Regions from separate parts of the Homo sapiens genome. Here all the other regions are linked to region 6. Evidence: promoter capture Hi-C in 16 types of primary human blood cells and fetal thymus (Javierre and others, 2016). All regions are on one chromosome and are shown on one strand. The core of a region is centred on a gene start or on the middle of the fragment in contact, and the rest is flanking DNA. Distances in the headings are between cores, read along the strand shown.

Region 1 (3,309 bases), core at 418-2,917, 340 kb before region 6:
CCAGGCCCAGGGACCCCCTGCCCTGAGCAGCCTCAAGACATTGTGCCCTGAATCCGGCCACTCTGGCTCCAGCCTCAGCTTAGAGTGCCCCAGGCGCAGGCTGGGTTGCAGCTCCAGAGGGTTCAAGCCTTGATAGTTGTGGTAGTTTCCACATTGTGTTAAGGCTGCAGATGCTCAGAATGCAAGCATGAAGGAGGCTTGGCAGCTTCTACCTAGATTTCAAAGGATGTATGAGAAAGCCTGGGATCCCAGTCAGAAGCCTGCCACAGTGGGGGAGCCCCAACAGAGAACCTCTACCAGGGCAGTGCCAAGGAGAAATGTGAGGGCTCCCCACAGAGTCCCCACTAGGGCACTACCTAATGGATCTGTGGTAAGGGGACCACTGCCCTCTGAGAAGTGGTCCTGAGACCACTGCTCAGTCATATCACTTGGCTGCCCAAGGCCTTGGGAGTCTATCTCTTATACCAGGATGTGGGACATGGAGTCAAGGATTATGTTGGAGCTTTAAGAGCCCTGGCTGGAGTACAGTAGCACAATCCTAACTTGCTGCAGCCTTTAACTCCTAGACTCAAGCTATCCTCCTGCCTCAGCCTCCCAAGTAGCTGGGATTACAGGCTCAAGCCACAGCACCTGCCTCTTCATATGCTCTTTACCCAAATTTTCCAATTATTTACATTTTGTATTTTGCTTTGTTAACACCCATCAGCCAAATACCACTGGGAACAAACTTATAATGAGAAACAACTTATTGTAGCTTTCTGCATCAAGGAACCCCACATAGCAAGGTGATCATGGAGTGTCTTGGTAAGAGGCATTTAGGAAGGGCTGGCTATAGAGTTTCATATAAGATGCTAGGTAGTATTAGATATAATATTAAGTAATATCACTATTAAATACTAGATATCAATTAAAAGACTATTAATATTAGTTAATTCTGTTACCTATTAGATATGGCTAGACACCATCATCTTTTCTATCCAAACTCCCATATTTAAATTTGTTGTGCTTTTTAAAGTTCTTGTAACTGTTTTCCCCCATCCCCCAGTCCAAAGTCCAATTTTATGTACTGCTTTTAGGTGTCACATTTCTGTAGTCTTCTTTAATCTAGAAAGATTCAACAGGCTTTGTCTTTTTATTCTTGACATCCTTGAAGTATATAGGCAAAGTATTTTATAGAAAGATAGTCATTTGGGATTTATGTATTTCATGTTTAGGTTCAGATTATGCATTGTTGGTGTGGATACCACAGAAGTGTTGAAGTGTCATAACAGGGGCCAAATGATGTCTGTTTTTCCCTTCATTGGAGATCTCAACTTTGTTCACTTGGCCAAGATGATATCTTTCAGATTTTTCCACTGAAAGGTTACTTTTTAATTAAATTTTGAAAATAAAAACGTTTCTTACGGGAGATACATTATTAGTGGGCATTATCCTGTAAAGATTAGCTTCCACTTCTCCCTGATTTATTAATCAGTTTCTTCAACTATAAATATTCTATCAATATGGACCCACAATCCAGTTAAATAACATGTAGATTAACTGTTATTATTTCCAACTTTATTGAGGTGTATTTTACATGTCATAGAATTTACCCATTTCAGTCGTACGATTTAATAATCTTCAGGAACTTTGAACAGTGGTGTGACCGTCATCATAATTCAGTTTAGATCATTTTCGCCCCCCAATTGGACTCCTTGTGCTTATGTACAGTTAAACCTCATTCTCACCTCAAATCTGGAGCAACCACTAACCTACTTTCTCTATATATACATTTGCTTATTCTGGATATTTTATAAAATTGAATTTTACAATCCATGGGGTTTTTAGACTGGCTTCTTTAACTTAGCATAATGTTTCCAAGGTTCATACATGTTGTAGCATGAGCCAGTTCTTCACTCCTTTGAATTTCCAAATAAAATTCTGTTGTATGGATATGCCATGATTTGTCTATTCATTTACCCGTAGGAGGGCATTTTGCTTGTTTGCAGTTTGGGGTTATGAGTAATGCTGCTATGAACATTCATGTGCTAATTGAAAATACTTGTCTATGTTGGTGGTCGGCATTCCTAGTTACCATTTCCTGTCTGTTTTTCTGCCTTTCCTGGCACTTTCCAGGCATGATTTCACCTTCACTTGAACTGCTTCATTCAGGACTCTGCAAATTCCCTGAAGTAGAAGGAAAAATGACCACATTCAAAGTGAGTAGGGCTTGCCTCTCTTGCTGTTAAAATTCCATCTTACTACTCATATTGTCACATTTTTATCTGTCTTGGGAAGACTCAAGGAGAACAACAAGCATTTGAGGGCATTTTGTTTGCCAGATGCTTCCTTTGCTGCTTTTGAATTGACTTTCCGTTTGGTTTTAGTTCTTGTTTTCTTACATAATTTCTTTTCTGTAGTAGATAAAATAGTAGGAATGGATAATTCTTTCACTTCACTACTTCTCTGCTCACAAATTAGCTGTTTTTATCTTGTATTCTTCATCATGTACATTCATAACTGTATTTTTATTGATGACATACCTCTAATTTTAAATTGTGCTCGTTTTATATAATATTATATAATGTTCCATTTTTATATTGGTATCATAGTCCCAATGAATTAATGTACCTTCTTATTTTTAACTACTTCACACTCATAGACATTTAGGTGGTTTAGGAATTTTACTGTTTTAAGCAACACTGCTGTGACAGCTTTCCTATATATAACCCCTTCCCCCCAAAATTAATTCTGAAAACAAGATAGGATACTTTTGACATGTATTACATTGGCTGTTTTATAGATGGTAGATTATTTCAACAGGGCACAGCACATGAGGCTCTGACTGCTACTTCCCACAAATATTGTTGTTGGAGTTTTCACACAGGAAGAGCTAGATTCTGTGTTTGCCATGCCTTACTCATACCTTGTATGCATGTTATTTATTGGTCTCTTCTTATTCCTTTATGGAGTAAGCAGTTTTACCAAAGTAGTAGGTACCTTCATTTGAAATGTCCAGTGATACTGGAAGATTGGCCAATCACTTGTGTTGTGTTACTATATTTACTCAGAGAAGCAGAATGCAGGTTTTAGTCTCATCTTCCTCTTAAACTCATAAAATATGAGAAATCTGCTCAGATTCACATAGGCAACCAAGGTCAGGAATGTTAGCCATTCTGCTCATTTATAATCAAATAAGTGAGAATGATATTAATACAATGAATTCTTCTTCCTAATCATATTACCGAAACCATGGGAATATTTACAACCTGCTCTTAACCATCATAAGGAGAATAAGGGTACTTGTGTTCACTCGGAAGAGTGGGAAGT
Region 2 (3,411 bases), core at 643-3,142, 430 kb before region 6:
AGCTTGCAGTGAGCCGAGATCGCGCCACTGCACTCCAGCCTAGGTGATAGAGTGAGACTCCGTCTCAAAAAAACATAACAAAACAAAACAAAAAAGAAATAGAGAACAATTAATCTTATGTTCTTTCCCAATGCTCATCTGTTTAATGGTGTAAGACATTTACAAAGATTTCTCGTACTTTGAACTCCAGTTCAAGATTTTCTTTAAAGAAAGTTTTCCAAATATTTAATAATAAAGGAAAAAGAAGACAGTGATTTTTTTTCTCACCAGTATCACATTGCATATGAATAAGCAAAATCTGAAACTCCAAGGAAAGGAAAGCTTTTTTTTCGTGACCTAGTGAAAATAATAGGAACATTCATTGAAATGAAAACTTTTCACTGTATAAGTTCATAATAATGATTTTATATATTTTTCTAGCATGAATCAATATATAGAGGATTTTAACAGGACTGAAAAGCCTTGTGAAAAGATGCATGCAATGAAGAAATAGGCAATCTTAGTAAAGAAATAGGAACTATAAAAGTACTAAAGGAAAATTCTAGAACTGAAAAATGTAATATCTGAAATTAAACAATTTGATAGATAGGCTTAGCAGCAGAACTGAAATGACAGAGAAAAAGAATAAGTGAATTTGAAAACAGAGTAACAGAAGTTGTCCAAGCTGAAGAACAGAAAAAAAATACTGAAGATAAATAACAAAGACAGTGACCTGTGGGACAGTACCAAAAGATTTAACGTATGAGTAGAGTAAATGCAGAAAAAATATTTGAAGATATAATGGCCAAGAATTTCTGGAATTTGGTGAAAGGCACATGTGTGCAAATTTCAGAGGCTCAGAGTACCCCAAGCAGAATTAACACAAAGAAAACCATACCTAGGCACCTCATACTCAAACAGCTGAAAACCAAAAGTAATAAGAAAATCTGGAAAGCACCCAGAGAAAAAGGACACATTACATAAGAGAAAAAACAATTCAAATGACTTCTTCTTGTAAACTATGGAGACTTGAAGACCAGAAGTCGGTGATTTATATATACATATATGAAACAATATATATCTCTTTATGAGTATATATATGTGTGTGTATTCTTTGTGTGTGTGCATATACACACACATATATTCATATATCTCCAAAAAACTGCCAACCCAGAATTCTATAGCCAGAAGAAATCCTTAAAAAATAAAGGCATTTCAGTAAAAGAAACTATGAAAATTCATCACCAGCAGACGTTCACTCCAAGAAATGCTAAGTTAAGTTCCTCAAACTGTAGGGAAATGATACCAGAGAAAAATTCAGATCTCTGGAAAGAAATAAACAGCATGGGAAATAGTAAATATATGGGTAAATATAAAAGATGAGGATTTTCATCTTAATTTCTTTAAGCAACTGGGTGTAGCACTGTGTGCCTATAGTCCCAGCTACTCCAGAGGTTGAGGCAGGAGGATTGCCTGAGCTCAGGAGTTCAAGGCTGTAGTGTGCTATATAACATCTGTGAATAGCCACTGAATTCCAGCCTGGGCAACATAGCAATACCCCATCTCTAAAAATAGAATACAGAAGACTGTTCAAATTTCCAACATGACTTTCCATGGATTACTTATTTAATTGCAAAGAAAAAATTCACCCATAACAATGGAAGGAGCTGGTGGTCAATACATGAATCAAGGGATAAAACATAGTTTCACTTGTAGGCCACCTGATACTTTACAATATTAAGTACATGATACTATCTATGAAGTAGTCTTTTGAAAATGTTTAATCTGAAACCCAATCAAGCCTCTAATCATAACCTCCAGGTCACAGTAAATATAGAGGACAAAGAAACAAGTTAATCACACCTCCAGAAACAATAAGACAAACACAGCATGTGCAACACTATTTAGGTCAAATCTAAAGTCTTCAAAAAGTCTATGTCACAAAATGATGAAGGGTAGGCTCTTGACTAAAAGAGACTTAATAAGCCATAATCATATAAAATATATGAGATTAGTTTGGTTCTTGGCTTGTGAAAAAGACAGTGCTAAAAGACATTATTTTAAAAATTGGAGAAATTTGCAAATGGAGTGAATATTTTAAGACATTATAGGGTTACTGTTAATTTTTTTGTGACAATGGTGTAGTAGACATCTAGAAGATTATCTTTGATCCTAGCAGTTGTATGTTGCCTTTTTTTTAGAGGTGAATGATACCTAAAACATTCACTCAAAAAACAGGAAAAGTGATATATGTAATATATACATATATTCATGTGTAATAAGTATGATATATATATATATGCATCTGTGTATATACATAGACATAAGACATGCATGGTATATATGTATTTGTGTGTATATATGTGTTAGTATACACATAAAAAAGAGAGACATCAGATGTACTGAAACTAGGTGAAGGGCAAACAAGCCTTCACTGCACCACTGTAAACAGCTACCTTTTCTGTAAGGATGTAAATCTTAACATTTTCATAAACTTAGGGAAAACTTTTCCAAGTTAATATCTGTCTTTTGGCTACCTAACTGTTCATTTCTAATTTATTTTAATTGTAGAGGATGCAAAATATGTGTTATCTGTATTATAGGATTTGTGAAAAAATTTCTTTAAACCACTCTCTAATTTTCAACAGCTATCCTTTCATTATTCAATAAATACACATTATTTATTCCAGCATTAATCTTCAGGGGTATGAATTCTGAATTTAAAAATTTCTCATTTAATATATTCTACAGGATTTTGTCCAGAATAAATTATATGAAGTGATGATAGAGCATTTTCAAAATATCACACTCATAGGGTCTTCCTTCTATAAGATTTATTTTTAGTAATTCTAACAATTATCATAAAAATAATGTATTTAGTAAGCAAATACGATGTGCCAGATGCCTTTCCAAGTATTTATATTCTATATTAACTAGTTTAATCTTCACTATAGCATCATAATAGTGACAACAGTAAAAATGTGCCATGGCTAAAGGCTTTCCCTCTCATTACATTAAGAGTCTCTCACCATGGTGAAATCTTTGATGTTGACTAAGTTGATAGCAATGACTAAAGGCCTTACCACATTCTTTGCATTTCTGTGGTTTCACACCAGTATGAATTGTCTCATGTTGAGTAAGTCGATCACTGCGATTAAAGGCCTTATCACATTCTTTACATTCATAGGGTTTTTCACCAGTATGAATTCTCTTATGTTGAGAAAGACCTGAGATAGAACGAAAGGCCTTCTTACATTCTTTACATACATAGGGTTTCAAACCAGTATGAATTGTCTGATGATAAATTAGTTGAGAATTAAGTCTAAAGGTTTTTCCACATTCCTTACATTCATAGGGTTTCTCCCCAGCATGAATTGATTGATGTGTCTTAAGGTCTCCAACACGACTGAAGGCTTTCCCACATTGCTTACA
Region 3 (3,651 bases), core at 441-2,940, 460 kb before region 6:
TCTGACTATAAAGTTCTAGATATGGTTCCTTTACATTTATCATGCTTCACTTTCCCTTACCTTTGATCAGTGGGTTGATTTTTTTATTGAATTTGGAGAAATTTCAACCATTGTATCTTCAAATACTTTTTTCTGCTTCTTTAGTACTTTTCCTCCTCCTAAGACTCCAATTATATGTGTGTTAGACCACTTATATGGTGCCACCAGTCACGGAGGTGCAACCCCCAGTCTTTTTACTCTTTGTACTTCAGTTTGGTAATACCTATTTACCTGTCTTGAAGTCACTGTTTTTTTTTTCTTTGATAGTGTCCAATTATTGTTAAGCCTATCCAATAAAGATTTCATTCCACCTACATTTTATAGTTATAGAATTTACATTTGGTTTTGTGGGTCTGCTTTTATTGACTGTATTTTCTCTAAATCTTGTGTCAAATTTTCCTGCTTCTTTACCGGTCTTACAATTTCTCATTGTATACTGGCCATTGTAGATGCCATGTTGTAGTGACTTGGGGATTTTATTATCTTCCTAATAGTTAAACTGTTCAGGCAAGCAGTTAAATTAATAGCAGATCACAATGATCTTTTTAAGAGTTGATTTTTGAAGGCAGGTACAGTTTGGTTTTATCCTTAGTCCTGGACATAATTCTTACTCTAGGTAGGGCAGTGGTTCTCAAACTGTGGACTGAAGACCCCTGGGAGTTCCCAAGAACCTTTCAGTGGGCCAAACCTTTCACAAAGTGAAAAATATTCTCATAACAATACTGAGAGGTTTGCCTTTTTCACTGTGGTGACACTTCCACTGGTGGTGTAGAAGCCATGGTGAATCTTCTCTGCTTTAGCATGAGCAAAGGCAGAGGCACCAAATAGTACTAGTAATCATCATATTCTTTACCTCCACACACAAAGAAAATGTGTTAAGAAAAAACCCATTTTCACTTAAGAACATCTTGAAGAAGCAGTATTCATTTTATTAAATCTCAACCCTTGATTATATATACATTTAAAAAATATTCTATGTAATGAAATGGGAAGTATCCATTAAGGTCTTCTGCTGTATACCAAAGTATGATGGTTGCCTTGAAGAAAACCACTTGTACAGTTGTTTAAGTTGTGAGTTAAAGGCCAGGCTCTGTGGCTGATGCCCGTAATCCCAGCATTTTGGGAGGCCAAGGCGGACAGATCACAAGGTTAAGAGATCGAGACCATCCTGGCCAACATGGTGAAACCCCATCTCTACTAAAAATACAAAAATTAGCTGAGCATGGTGGCACGCGCCTGTAGTCCCAGCTACTCGGGAGGCTGAGGCAGGAGAATCGCTTGAACCCGAGAGGCGGAGGTTGCAGTGAGCCAAGATCGTGCCACTGCATTCCAGCCTGGTGACAAAGTGAGACTACGTCCCCACCCCCAAAAAAATTGTGAGTTAAACCAACTGCTTTTTTGACAAAACACCATATTTTTCACCAAAGAATGAAAAACTTTGTTTGTTCAGACTTGGGCAGTAGGAAAACATTTTCTTGCAAGTGAGCCTGTCACTTCAAAAATAACTAATATTTGTTGCCAATGATATAATTCAATCTGTCATGTTAAAATTAGAATTTTGTAAAATGTTTATTCATAATTTTGAGCTTTATAGCTTCCTAATACATTAAGATTTTTTATGAGATGGGTGGTAATATTAACATGTGATTTTTTGATGTTGTATAGTGAACTACGTCAACATTTCAAAGATCTGCATAACTCTTTGAATCAGTATTTTCCAAATGACCAGTGTATGATGTTACAAAATTACACATGGATAAAAGATTATTCAAAGTGCAATGTAACATAGTATGAAAAGTTCACAGATATGATTTTATATTCCACATTGTACTTAACCTGCCAGACACTACCATTTCTTAAGTTTTAGGGTGGTGTCAAAGAAAAATATCCACAGTTATCTGCATGGACTAGTAAAATATTCTGCCATTTTCCAACTATGTACCATGAGAGGCTAGATTTTCTTCATATACTTCATATATATGATTTTCTTCATATATTTCAACCTAAATAACATATTGCCATAGATTGAATGCAGAAGCAGATATGAGAATCCAGGTGTCTTTTATTAAACCATCCATTTAAAAGATTTGAAAAAATTTAAAACATCTTTTGTTTTGTTTTAGAAAAGATTATTTTTATAACAAATCATTTATGTTAACAGTTAATGGTTTATTGTTATTTTAAGTGAATTAGTAAATATCTTAAAATTTCTCTGTTTAAATTTTTAACATGACAAATATCAAAATATATAACTACATAAACTAAAAGTCTTTTGGGTCCTCAATGATTTTTCTTGACATTTAAGAAGTTAAACCCATATTTATTTACTGACACTGTAAAACCTTACATAAAACATAAGTAGTAAGTAACTAAAATGTTAAATCTAAATCTATAATGTTAAATTAAAATCTAAGCCTTACATAGAAATTAAAATTCGCTAAACTACTGATGCTATGTTGTACAAAACTGTACTCCTTTTAGTTCATAATTGGTCACCTCCATATTCAGTTGGAATATTAGGTTGGTCAGCTTAAATACTGTGGCTTTGTTTTGGTTATCCACAGAATCTTTACACCCAAATGTTAATGCATAAAAAGCAGCAAGACATTGTTAAATGAAACAGCAATAGTGCAGTTTAGACCTGTGACCAACTATATATGATTAAACTTACTTCCCACATTCACATCACAATAATCATCCATCATTTAATAGCTCAACCAAAATGTTATACAGTCATCAACAGGCAAGGCACATGAAAACCCCGCACAACCAAGAATGATTTGGGCCCAAATGTCAGTAGATTTGAGTTTGGAAAAACCTTCTTGTAGTTGTTAAGGCTCAATGGCTCTGGTTAATTTAATATAATAAACAACAACTTCATAATGGAAAAAAATTAAATCCTCTATTGAGGTATAAAACCTAATTAATTTATAAGGATAAAGTAAGTGACTACCTTGAAGTCAAAACACATTATGGACAATGAAAGAGTATTACGATTGTTCCAAATTGACAAGGGTATTTAAACCTAGGTACACAATCTTTCTTAAAATTAATTTATAGAAAGTCATAACCTGTGGGTACATGAATATGAATATACATCTTCTCCAACTTGACAAGTACATTATTGCTGGGACAGGTACCTTTTAATAACAAGTAACTTATTAGCCTAGAAAGGCCAAACTTCTCTTTTTATTGTCAGCTTTTGGTTTTTAATATACCTGGGGTTATATAAACAAAAACACAGTCATAGTAGTTTTGGGCTAAGTAAATTCTGGATTATGTCAAAGAAACCTGATTGTTTCTAGTATCTTTTGTAAGCGAAAGAGCAAATCTTTGTGCTTGCTCAGTGGCCTTTTAGGAAACCTGAAAGGCAGATTTTATGTGAAAGACATAATCTGTTACAATCTGTTTCATTATTCTGAATTGGAAAAGGCATTAACAAAAAGAGTTGTCAGAGGAGCTTTTGACAAGAACAATAGTTGTGACTAATTAATCAGAACATCAACACAATATTTAAAATAATGAGAAGGTAGCAAGATTTTAATTTTTATTTAAATAAAAAATTCTGTTCTATTTAAAAATAGTTTAGATGTGTAGTATAAGGTAGCTAAA
Region 4 (3,535 bases), core at 216-2,715, 420 kb before region 6:
CAGCTATACTAATAACAAATAAAGTAGATTTTAATGCAAGAAGTATTGTAAGTAATAAAGAGGGTCATATTCTGCAATTCAGCAAGAATACAACAGTAGTCCTATATTTGTATGTACCTAATAACATAGTTTCAAAAAATATAAAATAAATGTCAACAGAATTAAAGGACAGACAAATTTTAAAGTTAGAGATTTCAACACTCTCTATTGGTAACTACTAATAGGAACACCAAAAAAAGAAAAAAAAATCCACAAAGCCATAAAAGTGTGAAGAAGATTAACCAAATTGAACCAAATGAACATTATACCAAACTGCAGACTACACATTCTGTTCAAATGATTACATCACATTTATCAGAATAACATTCTGGGCTATAAAGTAAGTATCTATAAATTACAAAGGATTAACATAAAACAATGTATATTTTCTGAGCCTTTACAATTAGCTTAGAACTCAAAAAGAGGCAGTTCTCAAATGTTTCCAAATACAGACATACTGTGGAGATATTGCAGGCTTGGCCCCAGACCACCATGCTAAAGTGAACATTGCAGTAAAGTGAATCACATGAATTTTTTGGTTTCCCAGTGCATAGAAAAGATATGTTTATACTGTATTATTCAGTGTGTAATAGCATTATCCCTAAAAAATACGGTGCATACCTTAATTTAAATATACTTCATTGCTAAAAAATGCTAATGGTCATCTGAGCCTTCAGAGAGTCATAATCTTTTTGCTGGTGGAAGGTATTGCCTTGATGTTGATGGCTGCTGACTGATCAGGGTTGCTGAAGGGTGGGATGGCTATGACAGTTTCTTAAAAGAAGACAATAATGGGCCAGGTGCGGTGGCTCATGCCTGTAATCCCAGCATTTTGAGAAGCTGAGGTGGGTGGATCACAAGGTCAAGAGATCGAGACAATTCTAGCCAACATGGTGAAACTCTGTCTCTACTACAAATACAAACATTAGCTGGGCATGGTGGTACGCACCTGTAGTCCCAGCTACTCGCTCGGCAGGCTGAGGCAGAAGAAGCGCTTGAACCCAGGAGGCAGAGGTTGCAGTGAGCCGAGATCGCTCCACTGCACTCCAGCCTGGGTGACAGAGCGAGACTCTGTCTCAAAAAAAAAAAGGCAATAATGAAGTTTGCCACATCAATTGACTCTTCCTTTCACAAGAGATTTCTCTGTAGCATGTGATGCTGTTTGATAGCATTTTACCCACAGGGGATCTTTTTTCAAAATTGGGGTCAATCTTTTCCAACCCTGGTGCTGCTTTATCAACTAAGCTTGTGTACTATTCAAAATTGTTTGTTTTTATTTCAACAACATTCACAGCATTTTCACCAGGAGTAGATTCCATCTCAAGAAACCACTTTAATTGCTCATCTGTAAGAAGCAGCTCCTCATCCATTAAAGTTTTATCATGAGATTGCAGAAATTCAGCCACATCTTCAGGCTCCATGTCTAATTCTAGTTCTCTTGCTATTTTTGCCACATCTGCAGTTACTTCCTCTACTCAAGTCTTGAACCCCTCAAAGTTATCTGTGAGGGTTGGAATCAACTTCTTCCAAACTCCTGTTAAACATTTTGACCTCCTTCTATGAATCAGGAGTGTTCTTAATGGCATCTAGAATGTTAAATCCATTCCAGAAGCTTTTCAATTCACTTTGCCTAGATCCATTAGAGAAATCACAATCTATGGCAGCTAGAGTTTTATGAAATGTATTTCTTAAAAAATGAAACTTGAAAGTTGAAATTATTCCTTGATCCATGGGCTGCAGGGTGGATGTTGTGTTAGTAGGCATGAAAGCAAAATTAATCTTTTCCATACATCCCCAACAGAGCTCCTGGATGACCAGGTGGAACGTCAATCGGCAGTAATATTTTGAAAGGAGTCTTTTTTTTCCTTTCTGAGCATTGGGTCTCAACAGTGGGTTTAAAATATTGAGTAAGCCATGCCATAAACAGATGTGCTGTCATTCAGGCTTTGTTGTCCCATTTCTAGAGCACAGGCAGAGTAGATTTAGCACAATTCTTAAGGGCGCTAGAATTTTCAGAATAGTGAATGAGTATCACCTTCAACTTATAGTCACCAGCTGCATTAGCCTCTAATAAGAGAGTCAGCCTGTCCTTTGAAGCCAGGCATTGACTTCTCTCTAGCTATGAAAGTCCTAGATGGTATCTTCTTCCAACAGAAGACTGTTTTGTCTACATGGAAAATCTTTTGTTTAATGTAGCCACCTTCATCAATAATCTTAGCTAGATCTTCTGGACAACTGGCTGCAGCGTATATATCAGCATTTGCTGCTTCACCTTGCACTGTTATGTTATGGAGATGACTTTTTTCCTTAAACCTCATGAACCAACCTCTGCTAGCATCCAACCTTTCTTCTGTAGCTTCCTCATGTCTCTCAGACTTCACAAAATTGAAGACAGTTAGGTCTTTGCTCTGGCTTTGGCTTAAGGGAATTTTGTGGCTGGCTTGATCTTCTATGTGGACCACTAATCTTTCTCTGTATTGCAGTATCTCCATATGACTCGAGAAGCACTTTTCATTTCCTTCAAGAACTTTTCCTTTGCATTCACAACTAGGCTAACTGTTTGGCACAAGAGGTCAAGCTTTTGGCCCGTCTTGGCTTTTGACATGCCTTCCTCACTAAGCTTAATCACTTCTAGCTTTTGATTAAAAGTGAGAAACAGAGGACTCTTCCTTTCATTTGAACACTTAGAGGCTATTGTAGGGCTACTAACTGGCCTGATTTCAATATTGTTGTGTTTCAGGAAAACAAAGAGAGGAAGAGAGACAGGAATAGCTGGTCGGTGGAGCAGTCAGAAGACACATAACATATATTCATTCAGTTCACCGTCTTATATGGGTGTGGCTCACGGTGTCCCAAAGCAATTACAACAGTAACACCAAGGACCCTGATCACAGATCACCATAAAAATAATGGAAAAGTTTTAAATATTGCTAGAATTACAAAATGTGACAAAGAGACACAGAATGAGCACATGCTGTTGAAAAACAGAGACAATATACTTGCTGAATGCAGGGTTACCACAAATCTCAATTTGTAAAAATTGCAATATTTGCAAAGTGCAATAAAGCAACATGCAATAAAATGAGATGTGCCTGTGTAAAAGGCATACTTCTAAATAGTTACTGGTCAAATAATAAATCAATGGAAGCTAGAAAATATTTTGAGTTAAATGATAGTGAAAGTAAGATATATCAAAGCTTGTGAGACGCAGGTAAACCAATGCTTATGAAGATATAAGCTTTAAATATATGTTTTGTCAAAACAGAAAGGTTGAAAATCAGTGATATACATCAAGAAGCTTGAAAAGGAAAAGCAAATTAAACCTATAGAAAGTATAACATACCAAAAGTAACCAATAACACAAAAAACCCCAGATATACAATAAAGAAAAATCAATAAAGCCAAAGCTATTTCATTGAAGAGATTAATAAGAATAATAAACTTCTAGTTACACTGATCAAGAAAAAATTGCCAATATCAGGAATATAAAAGAAGA
Region 5 (3,361 bases), core at 270-2,769, 380 kb before region 6:
ACCACAGGTGTGCACCACAATGTCCAGCTAATTTTTTTACTTTTTGTAGAGACGAGGTCATGCTATGTTGCCCGAGCCAGTCTCAAACTCCTGAGCTCAAGTGATCCTCCTGCCTCAGCCTCCCAAAGTGCTGGGATTACAGGTGTGAGCCACCACACTCAGCTGATGAATTCTTTAGTAGAGGTTTTTTAACCTCTACTTTAACCTCGCCTTTAACCTCTGAAATACCTGTTATTCTCTCTTGGTTTCCCATACTTAATTTGAGGCTTTTGCAATAGTATTTAAGATTACAGTGGTCCTTCCTATCCATAGTTTTGCTTTCTGTGGTTTCAGTTACCTGAAGTCAACTATGGCCCAAAAATAGGTGAGTACAGTGCAGTAAGATATTCTGAGAGAGAGAGAGAGACCATGTTTATAGAACTTTTGTTACAGTATTTTATCATTATTCTATTTTATTATAAGTTATTGTTGTTAGTCTCTTACTGTGCCTAATTTATAAATTAAGCTTTATCATAAGTATGTAGGTAAAGGAAAAACATAGTATATTTAGGGTTCAGTAATATCTGAGGTTTAAGTCATTCACTGGGGGACTTGGAAGGTATCTGCTGTGGATAAGGGGGGACTACTGTACATAGATGACTGCTTTTTTTGATAGTAAAATATGTAACATAAAATTTACCATTTTAACCATTTTTTAAGTGGTTACATTCAGTAAGTACATTTACATTGTTGTGCAGCCATCACCACTATCCATCATCAGAATTTTTTATGTACCCATTAAGTAATAATTCCCCATTCCCCCTCCCAGCCCCTGATAACCACGTTATCTCTATGAATTTGACTATATGGACTGGTTTCTAAAAGGTATAAGACCTTGCAAAATTTGGCTGTGTAGAGTGGCTCATGCCTGTAATCCTAGCACTCTGGGAGGCCAAAGTGGGAGGACTGCTTGAGGCCAAGAGTTCAAGACCAACCTGGCCAACAGAGTGATCTCTAAAGAGAAAAAAAAAAAATCTAAAAAAAAAAAAAAAGACCTTGCAAAATTTACTTTAACAGTAGGGCCTTAAAAAGACTATCATAGAGACAGAGAAAATTTAATAAAAAATCATGACTCTGCAAGATTTATGCAACTATAAATTAGATAATGTCACTGAAATTAACAAGCTATAGGAAGCACAATAATAACAACAAAAATGGTGATATTTAACTAAATACATATTAGGGACCTTATGAAGAACTTGGCACATGATGTTTCATTAAGGTACTTCACACATACCTGTGAAGAAGCTACTGTTGTATCAGTTGTGTGACCTTGGTCCAAACACCTAAACTTCTGTGCCTATGCTCAGCTATAAGAAGGGAAATGAAAACAGGATGTTAATCATAGGATTACTGTGAGGAATCAATGAGTGAATTTATGCAATGCCCTTGGCATAGTACCTGGCATTTTAGGGAGTTCTCAACAGATGATAATGACGACAATTGTATCCATTTAACAGGCGAGGAAGCTGAGGCTTGGTGAGGTCAAGAGGCAGGAACAGTACCTGAATCCAGCTTTCATACCAGAGCCAGTATTCTAAATCTTGTCTCTCTGTTGCTTCTAAAGACAAAAATAAGCAGATGGGAGTCTAAGATCTCATGGAAGGAGAAATGAGGGCTCCAGAGTTAGGGGTAAAAGACAGACACAGAAATGGAGATTGGACTCTGAAGCCAAGGGAGCTGCTTGAGGGAGTAGAGAACAGAGTTGTGAACAGTCTAGACTCCAGAACCAGCCCACCAGTACTGGAATACAGGCATGTCCAACTTGCTAGTACTTTGTGCTCTAATGTCTAATCTATAAACTGGATGTAATAATAATACCTACTTCATAGGAAGGTCAGTGAAAGTGACTAAGTATACACAAAACATGTGGAACAGTTTCTGGCAGCTTAAACAATCAATAGAAGTTACACATAAACCCATGCAGATGCTTTACATGAAACAGTCAGGGAGCCCCTCCCTTGCTGCTGTGGACCAATGTCTGTGTCCCCTCAAAATTCTTATGTTGAAGCCCTAATGTGATGTTATTGGGAGGTGGGGCCTTTAGGAGGTAATTAGGTCATGAGGGTGAAGCCTCCATAATGGGATTGCTTTCCTTGTAAGAAAAGCAAGTAACCTAGCTCTTTCTCTCTTCCTCCCAGGAAGATACAAGACAACAGCTTCTGCGAACCAGTAAGAGTGGCCTCATTAGACATTGGATTTGCCAGTGACTTGATCATGGACTTCCCAGTCTCCAGGACTGTGAGTTATAAAGGTTTGTTGTTTAAGCCACCCAGCCTATGGTATTGTTTGTTATAGCAGCACAAATGGACTAAGGCACTCACGGAGTCTGCAGCTTCACATGGCTTGATGATGGGGAAACATGGGCTGGATTCCAGATTCCACTTGACCCTTCAGCAGAGAGCCTCTGCACAGTGAAAAATGGAGTTCTTGTAGCTCTCAGGGTATGATTCTGATTCTATGGAGGGTGGAAACGAGTAAAATACCCAGATTAAAAGCTTAGTATTAGTTAATTACTGCTTGATTTATTAGTAAATTATTCTTAGTTCTCTTACTTCAGATAGAAGAACCCTTACTATTGAAAAGGGAAACATAAAACCTTCCAATCTTAGAAGAAATACTTATTTATTTATTTTTCTGAAATGGAGTCTTGCGCTGTGGCCCAGGCTGGAGTGCAGTGGAATGATCTCAGCTTACTGCAACCTCAGCCTTCCGGGTTCAAAAGATTATCCTGCCTCAGCCTCCCCAGTAGCTGGATTATGGGCACCCGCCACCATTCCTGGCTAATTTTTTTTGTTTCTTTTGTTTTTTTAGTACAGATGAGGTTTCACTATTTTGGCCAGGCTGGTCTCGACCTCCTGACCTCAAGTGATCCACCCGCCTTGGCCTCCCAAAGTGCTGGGATTATAGGCGTAAGCCACCACACCCAGCCTGAAATACTCTTTTAGAATTTGTAATTCACTTTGTTCTAACTCTATATTTGCCCAGCAACCTCTGCTCAGTAAGAATGTTTTGCAGGGGATATATTTCCATCGCCTCGGGAAAAAAAAGAGATAATAGCAAATCAACCATCTGTCTTGTGATGAATGTTTATTCAGCTTTATATCCCAAGTACCTAAAACAGTTCCTGTACAAAGTAATTGCCCAGCAGAAATGACTGAACCCACCATCAGACATGGAGAGGCATATAGGAAGACTAGACTAGTTGGTCTAAGTCTCCCTGAGACTGACTCCAGTTGGGAAGATTTGGAGAGCAAGGGTTTTATTTCCAAATTTTTCCTCTAGGTCTTTCACCATATTTGCTGTCCTTGGGCAAGATCAG
Region 6 (3,343 bases), core at 403-2,902:
AGGCAAACCAAACTTACCTGGAACTTGGTCATTTTTCCCCTCCTCCTTCTGGGAAAAGGCAGAGTTCCGGGGAAGTGAACCTGAGGGAGGGAAAGGCATCATGAGATAGGTTAGGGATGGCATTAGTCACCATGGCACTTTTATGTGACACTTCAGAGAAAGGTCCCCCTGTCTCTAGGCAGACACAGTTGCACACGGCTTAGTGAGGAGAACGGGAGCTAGCTCCCAGCTACCCCTCGGCCCCCTCAACCAGCTGCTTTTGTTCATGAACATTTCATATTAACAGACCTAAATCAAATACAGCTCTCTGTGTACTCCTTCTGAACTTTAGTTTCCAAGGAAATGAGACACAGACAGGCAGGGGAATGTAACAGAGCCAAAATGCCTGGCTTCAAATTTTGGCATTTCTACCTATTTTCAACTGATCAGCAGTATAAACCTTAAGCGAATTATTAATCTCTCTGTGCCTTAATTCAGTTACCTGTGAATGGGGACAATAATAATGCCTGTATTCTCTATTTCCTGCAGCTTCTGACAAGCAAGTGCTATTATGCTTCATAAAACTGCCCTTTTGAGTATGCTTTCTAGAAAATGAATCTTTTAAGAAACCCAGAACTCAAAAATAATTGCTCTGTCCTGTGAGTTACCATTACCCTCAGAAAAGTCTGTAACTGTGATTGGTTGTCTAACATAATTAGTTCCGTTGGTAATGATAGTTAAACTGCCACAGGTTTTTTTTTCCTCCAACAGATGTAATTACTTGCAAATGTTACTAAGCTGGAGGAGCCTCAAGAAAGTCTCTTTTTCCACATGCATGAAAGCAATGACTAATAAAAACCTAAAACTCTCTAAGAAATGGTGTTACACTTAAGTTAACCACACGGGATTATTGGTTATAACCACATTATACTGAACATTTATTAGGGCCTCAGGACACCTCTGGCACTCTGCAAATCCGTAATGACGATCGCTTATCTGAGATAAAACACACAGGACATTCCCCAGGCTCCGCTGGAACTAATTCCTGTCTCCTAAACAAGAGGCTAGAAAAGTCCAAGAATCCAGGAACGGCCCCACATCAGGCAAGGATTAGAGAAGGGACAGCGGCTCCGTAGCTGGATCTCCTAGACTCAGAGGAGTTTCCAAACAACAGGCGTCTTTTTCAGTATTATAACAGAATTAACGGTGGCATCCAACATTTTCCTATGCACTGGTTTTAAGCTTATTTCTATAAAACCTCATTTAATTCTCACAAGAACATCACTGGGAACGCACTAACCCTTTACAGGCACGAGGAAACTGAGACAAGGAGAGATTAAGTAACTTGCCCAATATTTTACTGCGAGGAGCAGGCAGGACTGGCTGGTAGGTGCGTGAGGACGGCTAGGGCAGCAGACCCTCAACCTCGAAGGACGACGCGAGCCCGCCTCCCACGCAAGAGGTTCTGCCGAGGGGACGCAAACTCCCGCAGCCTCCCAACCCCGCCCTCCAGCGCTGGCCGCGGCTTCTCTTCCCCAAGCCAAGGACGGGTTCATTGCTGGCCCCACGCCTAGGCAAAGAGGGCTCGGAGAAGTCTTGGAGACCCGGAGCTGACTCACCTCCCTGGGAGATATCTCAGATCCGACCTCGCCTTCCTGGAGCGGAAGTGCCTCCGAGTGCCCACGGTTCGTGGACTCCACTTCCCAGAATTCCTAAGCGGAAGCGTCTCAGAGTTCTCTCACTCCTGGACTACAGTTCCCAGAATGCTCCAAGGGCAGCGCTTCCCACCAGCTGGGCTTTGTTTTGACTCAAGCCGGTTGGGTTTGAGCCACTTCTCTGGTGCTACTACTGTGAGATTCGTTTTTGTTTTATTCATTTTTAAAAGCTCATGAGAAAATAATTGTAAAATTTTTAAAGTGATGACATATAAAAATGAAAAGTGCAGCTTGTATTATTAAAATAAGTTAGAAACCAAAATTTTTCGCAGAAGCAGAGGGTAGGCTAAAATGGGAAGCGTAAAAGTGACTTAGGCTGAGCTCCGATGGACGCTGAACGTTAAGGAACACCAGATCTCAAACTTGTGTCAAATGCCGGCTCCCCAAATATCATCAACTCAACCTGTTGATAAGACAAAAAACAGAATTTATTGTTGATTGCAGTAATGGAGAACAACACTTCGACGGAGCGTTGGCACCTTCACAGAGCAAAGTGTCAAGGCAAGGTTGGAACTGATTGAGAACTGGATGTTTAAGGCGGGTCTTTCAATGCAAGGGATTTTATTAGTATTGCATAATGATCATGATACTACAGTCCAGGATTGGTGGATATAGCAAGGATTTTTGAAGCAAAGAATCTTAAATTGCAATCTATTGACACTTTCTTTGGAAGAGATTGAAAATTTGATGGGTCTCTGTGGAAGTTCCCATAATGAACAATTAAACAGTTTGCTTGGGCAGGAATCTCCTGGAATAAAGGCCTGCTGATGAAGACAGCTGAACAATCATGTTAGTGCCGAAAGTAAATTGTGATGAAACGGGAAAAGTTCACTTCTCCCTCTCCCAGGGCATGTGATGGGGTGTGGCTCGCTTCTTCGTGCCCAGCCGCTCAAACCTCTAGGGGAGCATGCACACGGGCAGGTTGTAGGGCTCCAACCCCACGGCAGTGTCTAGGGGTGAATGTTTACAGCTCCTGAAGCCCCAGTGGGCGTGTGTTATAGGGTGCTTTTTTAGTTCAGCCATCTGTAGGAGGCTTGTGTTAGCTCAATTAGACCCCTGACTTATCGCAAGCAAGAGAGGGCTTTCTGTATCCCAGAGGTTCTTGCCTTGGTGTACCAGAAGAATCGCATCACACATAGGCTTGGAGAAAGAGTGCAAGGATTGGAGAAACCTTGGAGAACGATTTGTAAGTAGCTCTCAGCAGAAGGGGGAGCCAGAAGGGAGATGGTTTTCGCCTGGAGTCAGCCTCTCAGCGGCCTGGGCGCTCCTCCGACTACCCAGGCCAAACTGCGTTATTCCACCGGTTAATGGCCTGCTGGCCTGCCGGTCTCTTCAGTGTGCTCTTTTGCCGACCCGCTCCCCTCGACAGCCTCTCGACAGCCAGCTGTTTGTGTGTCCGCCAATGCTCTCCTCTCAACGTCCAGCAGCTTGTGTCTCTGCCTGCTAGGGTATCAGGGTTTTTATAGGCACAGGATGGGGGCGTGGTGGGCCAGGGTGGTCTTGGGAAATGCAATATTTGGGCACAAAGGCAGGAATGCCTGTCCTCACCTAGGTCCGTGGCCACAGGCCTGGGGGTAGAGCCCTAGTCAGGGACCACACCCTTCTCCCCTCCAGCACTTCCATTCCCCTCTTCCGTATCAGTGAGGGGC
Region 7 (3,598 bases), core at 972-3,471, 400 kb before region 6:
GACTACAGGTGTAAGCTGTACACCAGGCTAATTTTTGTATTTTTAGTAGAGACAGGGTTTCGCCATGTTAGCTAGGCTAGTCTCCAACTCCCTAGTGACCTGCCCTTCTGGGCCTCCCAGAGTGCTGGGATTACAGGTGTGAGTCACCACACCCGGCCAGCATTTCAGAGTCTATAGGTCAAATAAAATAAAATAAAAAATAAAAACAACATATCAAAACATATAGGATGTAGATAAAATAAGACTTCAAGGAAAATTTATAGCATTAAATGCCTATATTAAAAGAGAAGAGTGTCTCAGTGACTGATATGGTTTGGGTTTCAGATGCTCTTCTTTTTCTCTTGTTTCTTAAGATAAACACTGTATTCGTCCATCAGTGACTGATATGGTTTGGATCTGTGTCCCCACTAAATCTCATGTCAAATTGTAATCCCCAGTGTTGACGGTAGGGCCTGGTGGGAGGTGAATAGATCGTGGGTGTGGAGTTCTCATGAATGGTTTAGCACTATCCGCCTTTGGTACTGTATAGTGAGTGAATTCTCAGGAGATCTGGTTGTTCGAAAGTACATGGCACCTCCTCCCTTGCTCTCTTCCTCCTGCTCCAGCCATGTGATTTGTGCCATAAGTAAAAGCTCCTTGAGACCTCCCCAGAAGCAGAAGCCACTGTGTTTCCTGTACAGCCTGCAGCACTGTGAGCAACTAAACCTCTTTTCTTTATAAATTACTCAGTCTTAGGGATTTCTTTATAGCAGTGTGAGAACAGACTAATATAGTGACCTAAGCTTTTACCTTAAGAAACAAGAAAAAAAGAACATCTGAAACCCAAAGTAGGCAGAAGGAAACAAAAAAAAGAGAGAAATCCATGAAATGTGCACACCTGTTCATGATAAAAAACACATTCAACAAATTAGAAATGGAAGGGAACTTCTTCAACATACCACCTATAAAACACCCACAGCCAATATCATACTTAATGGTGAAAGACAGAGTACTTTCTAAGATCAGGGACAAGACAAAGATGTGCACTCTCACCACTTTTTTTTTTTTTTTTTTTTTTTGAGACAGGAGTCTTGCCCTGTTGCCCAGGCTGGAGTACAGTGGCGCGATCTCAGCTCACGGCAACCTCCGCCTTCCGTGTTCAAGGGATTCCCCTGCCTCAGCCTCCTAGTAGCTGGAATTAAAGGCACCTACCACCACGCCCGTCTAATTTTTGTATTTTTAGTAGAGATGGGGTTTCACCATGTTGCCCAGGCTGGTCTTGAACTCCTGACCTCAAGTGATCTCCCTGCCTCAGTCTCTCAAAGTGCTGGAATTACAGGCATGAGCCACCACGCCCAGCCAACTCTCACCACTTCTATTTGATACATGCTGGAGGTTCTAGCCAGGGCAACTAGGCAAATAAATGAAATAAGAGACATCCATATGGAAATGAAGAAGTACAATGAAGAAGTAAAGCTATATTTGCAGATATGATTTTATATACATAAAGTCCTAAGGAAATCACAAAAAACTAATAAGACTAGTAAATGAGTTCAGCAAAGTTACAGGAAGATCAATATGCAAAAAAATTGTGTTCTTACACACTAGCAATGAATAATCAAAAAATGAAAGTAGGAAAACAATTCCATTTACAACAGAATTTGAAGAAAATACTTAAGGAATAAAGTTAACAAATGAAGAGGAAAGTTTGTACACTGAAAATTATAAAACATCATTGAAAGAAATTAAAGACGACCTAAATAAAAGGAAAGACATCTGTGGTTCATGGATAAGAAAAGTTAATATTGTTAAGATGCCAATACCTCCCAAATTGACCTATGGATTCAATGCAGTCCTTAACAATATCCTAGCTGGCTCCCCCCTCCCAACCCCACTGCCTCTAGAAATTGACCAGCTGATCCTAAATTCATATGGAGACACAAGGGACCCAAAATAACCAAAACAACTTTAGAAAGGAAGAACAAAGTTGGAGGACTCGCATTTCCCAATTTCAAAAGTTACTGGAAAACTACAGTGTGGTACTGGCACAAGGGTAGACATAGAGATGAGTGGAATAGATTTAAAAGTCCAGAAGTAAGTCTTGACACTGTCGATTCATTTTCAATAAGGGTGCTACGGCCATTTAGTAGGGGAAAGAATAGTCTTCTCAACAAATTATGGTAAGACAACTGGATATCTGTCTGCAAAGAAAGAATGAAGTTGGAATTCTACTTTATACCATACACAAAAATTAACTCACATCACTGACCTAAATCCTATAGGAGCTAACACTATAAAACTCTTCAAAGACAACACAGGGGCAAATCTTCATGAGCTTGGAATAGGCAATGATATTTTGGATACACCAAAAGCATAAGCAAAACAATAAATAGGAGTATATCAAAATTCAAACTTTTTACTGCAAATGATACCATCAAGAAAGTGACAAGATACCCACTGAATGGGAGACAATATTTGCCCATCATACATATGACAATGGACTTGTATCTAGAATACAAAAACTCTTAGAACTCAACAATAAAAAAAAAATGGATAATCCAATTTCTGGAAGTCAGTCAGATTTCTGGGATGATCACTCCCATCCTCACAACAACAACAACAACAAAAAAAACTAAAGAAATTAATTTTTTCTGGATCTGTCAGATAATAGAGGTCACAAGGCAAACCACCAGCCTTAAATCTGGAGAGACAAGCAAACGGAGATCAGCTTACTTGGAGCAGAAGGACCAAGGTAAGACCATTTAGGCGGGGAAAGAATATTGGTAACTAAGTGTTACCAATAACACTGCTAATTAAGTATTACCAGCTAATTGGTAATATTTACTAGCAGTGTAATTAAGTATTACCAGCTAATTGGTAACTAAGTGTTGGTAACTAAGTGTTACCAATTAGTTGATAACAAGTAATTAGCAATGCTATTGGTAGGAGCGCTTAATTGGTAATTTAGAGAATTCATTGGAGGCTAGCTTCAAAAATCTTCCAGGGACGCAGTCTTAGGGGGAGCCTCACACTTTCATGGAATTTACGTCCAGTAATGCTACTAGGTTCTCATGGTGAATTTACAAGAAAAATCTCATGTTTTGGAGGAGGACAAAAGTAACTATTTTGAAATACACTGAGAGTGTTCCACATAACAAAGGACTGCTATCCAAGGGAAATGACTTTATCAGATACTTATATAACTGGGGAGAAAGGCAATATGTCAACTCGCCTTCCTGTCTTACCTAAGGGGAAAACAGAAAGACTAAGAACTGCGTCTGAAGATCACAGGCCAGGGACTCAGGCCCACTAAAAGACAGATTAAATCATATGATTGTAGAACACTTCCCCTCTCCCCACACTTTACCACCATATCAATAGGATTCTTGTATAACAACAGGATAATAAAAGTGAGAAGGCTGCAAGACACAGATTCTATTTTTAAAGTTCTTAGGGAAATTCAAAGACAACAGGGAAGGAAAAAGAAGGGACACTACAGAAAGGTAAAACTGAAACCTCTGACACCTTCAGCTAAATCAAACATTAAACACAGCCCAACACCTAGCCAGATTAACATAAAACCTCACACTTAACTGAAGCTCCCACATTGCCTGCTATA

What was found. The method cuts DNA at HindIII sites, captures the fragments that hold promoters and counts their contacts. A CHiCAGO score of 5 or more calls a contact.
Region 1: a contact is called between a fragment that was not itself captured here and the fragment with the promoter of ZNF235 in region 6, in 2 of 17 cell types (non-activated CD4 T cells and M2 macrophages). The highest score is 9.5, in non-activated CD4 T cells.
Region 2: a contact is called between a fragment that was not itself captured here and the fragment with the promoter of ZNF235 in region 6, in 8 of 17 cell types (neutrophils, activated CD4 T cells, M2 macrophages and 5 more). The highest score is 8.3, in neutrophils.
Region 3: a fragment that was not itself captured here is called in contact with the fragment with the promoter of ZNF235 in region 6 in 2 of 17 cell types (M2 macrophages and M1 macrophages); the score reaches 6.6 in M2 macrophages.
Region 4: a contact is called between a fragment that was not itself captured here and the fragment with the promoter of ZNF235 in region 6, in 1 of 17 cell types (M1 macrophages). The highest score is 6.1, in M1 macrophages.
Region 5: a fragment that was not itself captured here is called in contact with the fragment with the promoter of ZNF235 in region 6 in 9 of 17 cell types (total CD4 T cells, M2 macrophages, non-activated CD4 T cells and 6 more); the score reaches 10.3 in total CD4 T cells.
Region 7: a fragment that was not itself captured here is called in contact with the fragment with the promoter of ZNF235 in region 6 in 2 of 17 cell types (naive CD4 T cells and non-activated CD4 T cells); the score reaches 6.3 in naive CD4 T cells.

The regions. Positions count from the first base shown.
Region 1 is chr19:43,960,610-43,963,918 of GRCh38, forward strand. ZNF221 (zinc finger protein 221) reads left to right here. Exons shown (of 5, transcript NM_001297588.2): 2 at 2,116-2,198. The coding sequence starts at 2,118. Among named protein-coding and RNA genes, the nearest start is that of ZNF221, 11 kb to the left of the region's middle. The HindIII fragment of the contact is 4,158 bases long and covers 1-3,309 here.
Region 2 is chr19:43,869,567-43,872,977 of GRCh38, forward strand. ZNF404 (zinc finger protein 404) reads right to left here. Exons shown (of 3, transcript NM_001033719.3): 3 at 2,799-3,411. The coding sequence ends at 2,989. Among named protein-coding and RNA genes, the nearest start is that of ZNF404, 13 kb to the right of the region's middle. The HindIII fragment of the contact is 3,147 bases long and covers 320-3,411 here.
Region 3 is chr19:43,841,941-43,845,591 of GRCh38, forward strand. The region is part of intron 6 of ZNF283 (zinc finger protein 283); the gene reads left to right. Among named protein-coding and RNA genes, the nearest start is that of ZNF283, 16 kb to the left of the region's middle. The HindIII fragment of the contact is 4,496 bases long and covers 1-3,651 here.
Region 4 is chr19:43,887,404-43,890,938 of GRCh38, forward strand. No RefSeq gene overlaps it. Among named protein-coding and RNA genes, the nearest start is that of ZNF404, 5.2 kb to the left of the region's middle. The HindIII fragment of the contact is 367 bases long and covers 1,283-1,649 here.
Region 5 is chr19:43,922,962-43,926,322 of GRCh38, forward strand. ZNF45 (zinc finger protein 45) reads right to left here. Exons shown (of 10, transcript NM_003425.4): 4 at 2,364-2,497; 5 at 1,441-1,600; 6 at 1,277-1,349. It overlaps ZNF45-AS1 (ZNF45 antisense RNA 1), which reads left to right. Exons shown (of 3, transcript NR_184050.1): 2 at 2,181-2,293; 3 at 3,325-3,361. Among named protein-coding and RNA genes, the nearest start is that of ZNF45, 11 kb to the right of the region's middle. The HindIII fragment of the contact is 2,032 bases long and covers 504-2,535 here.
Region 6 is chr19:44,303,373-44,306,715 of GRCh38, forward strand. It overlaps ZNF235 (zinc finger protein 235), which reads right to left and starts at 1,653. Exons shown (of 5, transcript NM_004234.4): 1 at 1,599-1,653; 2 at 18-80. The coding sequence starts at 32. RefSeq lists enhancers at 1,436-1,989, 2,566-3,067, 3,068-3,343. The HindIII fragment of the contact is 5,796 bases long and covers 1,220-3,343 here.
Region 7 is chr19:43,905,130-43,908,727 of GRCh38, forward strand. The region is part of intron 1 of ZNF45-AS1 (ZNF45 antisense RNA 1); the gene reads left to right. Among named protein-coding and RNA genes, the nearest start is that of ZNF45-AS1, 5.1 kb to the left of the region's middle. The HindIII fragment of the contact is 2,882 bases long and covers 781-3,598 here.